Regions from separate parts of the Homo sapiens genome. Here region 2 is linked to region 1. The links are contacts of gene promoters, found by promoter capture Hi-C in human tissues and cell types (Jung and others, 2019). All regions are on one chromosome and are shown on one strand. The core of a region is centred on a gene start or on the middle of the fragment in contact, and the rest is flanking DNA. Distances in the headings are between cores, read along the strand shown. Region 1 holds the start of ZNF676 (zinc finger protein 676). Region 2 has its middle 45 kb from the start of ZNF676.

Region 1 (2,701 bases), core at 70-2,569:
TATAAACAAGTGGCAATGTTGAAATCCATGGTTCTATGGTTAGGAGAACAATTACAAAACTTACAATTGAAAGAGCAATTGTGCTATCATTTAAATCACACTCATATATGTGTAACCAACGTAGAATATAACCAAAGCGAGTATCCATGGGACCTTGTGAAAGCCCATTTGCGGGGAGCTTTCACACCCAACATCACCTTTGATACTGGTGAATTACAAAACAAAATTCTTGATTTAAATAAGCAAACTCAAGAGTTTCAGCCTTCTTTAGAAGACTGGACCGAATTCCAGCAAGGCCTGGAGAGCCTCAATCCTTGGACCTATCTAAAGCACCACACAAACATCTCATATGTAGTTTTTGGAGTAATGCTGTTCTGTCTCTGTTTTCTGTTCATAGTCTGTAAAATCCGACGGACCAATCACAAAATGAGAGCTGCCCAACCTGGCCTTACGTTTATTTGATTAATGCATAAACAGGAAGGGGGAAATGTTGGGAGCTGAATGCCTGAGTGTTGTGACCAACTCAGCATTCCACTGGAGGCTATATGATCAAACAGCAAACTGTTTATCATGAGTGCAGAATGTGGGCAAACTTGCTTCTGCTCCTGCCACCAGAAGGTATACTGAGGACAGTCACTCCCTGGTGCCATGCTCCTTGGAGTTATCTACTGGAACATCTGGAGAGTACTGTTCAAAGAATACAGTCATGCAGGCCTGCATTAAGTCAAGCAGCTGACCACAACCTCCCCCTTCTCCCTATCTCCTTTACTCAATAAATACAAAGGGCTATAGAAGCTCAGGACCCTTGTTCACCAGAAGCAAGGAGTCCACGACCCCTTCTTCCAAATATACTCTTTTGTCTTTGTCTGTATTCTCGCATTCATCCTCCTTTGTTCAGTCCAATAAGGTCTGCAGCAAAATGAAACCTGTAGTATATACTAGGAATTGCGTATTAAAGTTATTCTCACCCAGGAAGACCAGGTTTCTGTAGTTCTCTAACATCACATTCCTATATAAATTCTGCTGTGTAGAATCCAGGCATTGCCACTCCTCCAGAGAGAATTCTATGGCCACATCCCTAAATGTCAATGCTCCCTGGAAAACACACACAAACACATATATTTACCAATTGGTCATGGGCAGAACTTTTAATGTGACTCAAGGTAAAATGGAGAGAGTAGAGAGAGCTGGTTCTGACTTATATGAATGACTGAAATTATTCAATAAAATAGTTTTCAACACAGAAATGTTCACTAATGTATTCTCTAACTCTGAGAAAAGAAAGTGGTATAAGATCCATAACATCTGTGTATATGTAATATTTTTCTAGATAATAAAGTATAAAATTGAGGGCAAAAACACTAACATGTACAATTTTGAGTGCTATATTTACATCATACAGAATTGTGTGCCAGGCATGGTGGCTCATGCCTGTAATCCCAGCACTTTGGGAGGCTGAGGTGGGCAGATCACCTGAGGTTGGGAGTTCGAGACCAGCCTGACCAACATGGTGAAACCCCGTCTCTACTAAAAACACAAAATTAGCCATGCATGGTGGCACATGGCTGTAATCCTAGCTACTCGGGAGGCTGAGGCAGGAGAATTGCTTGAACCCAGGAGGCGGAGGCTGCAGTGAGCCAAGATTCATTGCACTCTAGCTTGGGCAACAAGAGTGAAACTCCATCTCAAAAAAAAAAAAAAAAATTCATCGTGTGTATTTTTCAGATGGAAAAGACATAGTTTTGCATATTATTCAGATGGAATAGACATGTTGAGTTAGAAGGTATGACTCAAATTTTAATGTGTGCAATAAGCTAGAGATCCTGTTAATGCAATTTTTTTTTTTTCAGATCTGGGATAAAGTCTGAGTTGCTGAATTTCTAATAAGCTCATCAGTATGCCAATGTTTTTGGCCCAAAAAGACTATTTTTTAAAACATCCAGTAATAGAATGAGCCTGTGTTTTTCTGTTTTTCTGGTTTGTAAACAAAGATAAGAGCCTTCATTTTCCAAAAACAGACAAATGCAAAGGAAACCTAAGAAAGAAGGGCAGCTGTCAGATTAAATGTTTTGGTTTATTCACATCAGCTGCATAAAGATATTTAATGATGAAGAGGAAAATGATTAATTCCATAGTAAAAAAATGTGTCAGAGAGCTTATCAACCAAGTGATTTATTAACATCAATTACACTAGAACACATTTTTTTAATGTCCTGATGTACCCAGAAGGACACAGTATTACTGCTGAGATATTGCCCCCCCTCTGAAAGGTAAATTATAGTCTGAATTTAACCATAAGGAAACATTAGTTTTATGGAAAGTTCAAGATAGAGATATCTCCCATGTTCTGTAACTTTTAGTAGTGATTTTAAATAGTATTTCTTCAGCACTGAGAGAGCAGGTATCTCCTAACAATTTTTTTTAGAATTTTCTGGGTAATAAATACCACACTGCTTCAATGAGTGTTTTCTTAATCTTGTACTGCATAGACATAATAAAGAACACAGATGAAACCACAACATTACATGTTCTCTGTCTTCACTAAAAACCCCAGGTTTTCCCCAATATGAATTTTGAGTATCTACACTTTCCCATGTTCAACAGCCACAAAGGGACATTTTTAATATTGCAGATTATAAATTCATAGTGAGATTTCTGCATGGCATATAAGAAGCCATAATATAGAGAAAGCTCTGGTATA
Region 2 (2,871 bases), core at 228-2,727, 45 kb before region 1:
AAATTCACACATAACAATATTAACCTTAAATGTAAAAGGGCTAAATGACCAATTAAAAGACACAGACCAGCAAATTGGATAAAGAGTCAAGACCCATCAGTGTGCTGCATTCAGAAGACCGATCTCACATCCAGAGACACACATAGGCTCAAAATAAAGGGATGGAGGAAGATCTACCAAGCAAATGGAAAACAAAAAAAAGCAGGGGTTGCAATCCTAGTCTCTGATAAAACAGACTTTAAACCAGCAAAGATCAAAAAAGACAAAGAAGGCCATTACACAATGGTAAAGGGATCAATGCAACAAGAAGGTTAACTATCCTAAATATATATGCACCCAATACAGGAGCACCCGGATTCATAAAGCAAGTCACCAGAGACCTACAAAGAGACTTAGACTCCCACACAATAATAATGGGAGACTTTAACACCCCATGGTCAACATCAGACAGATGAACGAGACAGAAGGTTAACAACGATATCCAAGAGTTGAACTCAGCTCTGCACCAAGCTGACCTAATAGACATCTACAAAACTCTCAACACCAAGTCAATAAAATATACATTCCTCTGAGCACAACATCACACTTATTCTAAAATTGACAACATAATTGGAAGTAAAGCACTCCTCAACAAATGTAAAAGAACAGAAATCACAGTAAACTGTCTCTTAGACCACAGTGCAATCAAATAAGAACTCAGGATTAAGAAACTCACTCAAAACTGCACAACTACATGGAAACTGAACAACCTGCTCCTGAATGACCACTAGGTAAATAATGAAATGAAGGCAGAAATAAAGATGTTCTTTGAAACCAATGAGAACAAAGACACAACATAACAGAATCTCTGGGACACATTTAAAGCAGTGGGTAGAGGGAAATGTATAGCACTAAATGCCCACAAGAGAAAGCAGGAAAGATCTAAAATTGACACCCTAACATCACAATTAAAAGAAATAGAGAGGCAAGAGCAAACACATTCAAAAGCTAACAGAAGACAAGAAATAACTAAGATCAGAGCAGAACTGAAGGAGATAGAGATGCAAAAAACCCTTCAAAAAATCATTGAATCCAGGAGGTGGTTTTTTGAAAAGATCAACAAAATTGATAGACTATTAGCAAGACTAATAAAGAAGAAGAGGGAAGAATCAAATAGATGCAATAAAAAATGATAACGGGGATATCACCACTTATCCCACAGACATACAAACTACCATCAGAGAATATTATAAACACCTCTATGCAAATAAACTAGAAAATCTAGAAGAAATGGATAAATTCCTGGACACATAAACCCTCCCAAGACTAAACCAGGAATAAGTTGAATCTCTGAATAGACCAATAACAGGTTCTGAAATTGAGGAAATAATTAATAGGCTACCAACAAAAAAAGTCCAGGACCAGATGGATTCACAGCTGAATTCTACCAGAGGTACAAAGAGGAGGTGGTAACATTTCTTCTGATACTATTCCAATCAATAAAAAAAGACAGAATCCTCCCTAACTCATTTTATGAGGCCAGCATCATCCCGATACCAAAGCTTGGCAGAAACACAACAAAAGAGAATTTTAGACCAATATCCCTGATGAACATTGATGCAAAATTCCTCAATAAAATACTGGCAAACCAAATCCAGCAGCAAATCAAAATGTTTATCCTTGACAATCAAGTTAGCTTCATCCCTGGAATGCAAGGCTGGTTCAACATATGCAAATCAATAAACGTCATCCATCATATAAACAGAACCAACGACAAAAACCACATGATTGTCTCAATAGATGCAGAAAAGGCCTTTGACAAAATTCAACAGCCCTTCATGCAAAAACTCTCAATCACCTAGGTATTCAAGGAATGTTTCTCAAAATAATAAGAGCTGTTTATGACAGAACCACAGCCAATATCATACTGAATGGGCAAAAACTGGAAGCATTCCCTTTGAAAACTGGCACAGGACAGGGATGTCCTCTCTCACCATTCCTATTCATCTTAGTGTTGAAAGTTCTGGGCAATCAGGCAAGAGAAAGAAATAAGGCGTATTCAATTAGGAAAACAGGAAGTCAAATTGTCCCTGTTTGCAGATGACATGATTGTATATTTAGAAAACCTCATCATCTCAGCCCCATGTCTCCTTAAGGTGATAAGCAACTTCAGCAAAGTCTCAGGATACAAAATTTTTCAATGTAAAAAATCACAAGCATTCCTATACACAAATAACAGACAAACAGAGAGCCAAATCATGAGTGAACTCCCATTCACAATTGCTGCAAAGAGAATAAAATACCTAGGAATACAAATTCCAAGGAATGTGAAGGACCTCTTCAAGGAGAGCTACAAACCACTGCTCAATGAAATAAAAGAGGACACAAACAAATGGAAGTACATTCCATGCTCCTGGATGGGAAGAATCAATATTGTGAAAATGGCCATACTGCCCAAGGTAATTTATAGATTCAATGGCATCCCCATCAAGCTACCTCTGACTTTCTTCACAGAATTGGAAAAAAACTACTTTAAAGTTCATATGGAACCAAAAAAGAGCCCTCATTGCCAAGACAATCCTAACCAAAAAGAACAAAGCTGAAGGCATCACACTACCTGACTTCAGACTATACTACAAGGCTACAATAACCAAAACAGCATGGTACTCATACCAAAACAGAGATATAGACCAATGGAACAGAACAGTGGCCTCAGAAATAACACCACACATCTACAATCATCTGATATTTGACAGACCTGACAAAAACAAGAAATGAAGAAAGGATTCCCTATTTAATAAATGGTGCTGGGAAAACTGGCTAGCCATATGTAGAAAGCTGAAACTGGATCCCTTCCTTACACCTTATACAAAAATTAATTCAAGATGATTT

Evidence for each region. The method cuts DNA at HindIII sites, captures the fragments that hold promoters and counts their contacts. A contact is called where the count stands out against the background at its distance.
Region 2: a fragment that was not itself captured here is called in contact with the fragment with the promoter of ZNF676 in region 1 in 1 of the 25 tissues and cell types used here (mesendoderm cells).

The regions. Positions count from the first base shown.
Region 1 is chr19:22,195,632-22,198,332 of GRCh38, forward strand. ZNF676 (zinc finger protein 676) reads right to left here and starts at 1,320. Exons shown (of 3, transcript NM_001001411.3): 1 at 969-1,320. The coding sequence starts at 1,002. The HindIII fragment of the contact is 8,211 bases long and covers 1-2,701 here.
Region 2 is chr19:22,150,503-22,153,373 of GRCh38, forward strand. No RefSeq gene overlaps it. Among named protein-coding and RNA genes, the nearest start is that of ZNF676, 45 kb to the right of the region's middle. The HindIII fragment of the contact is 5,978 bases long and covers 1-2,871 here.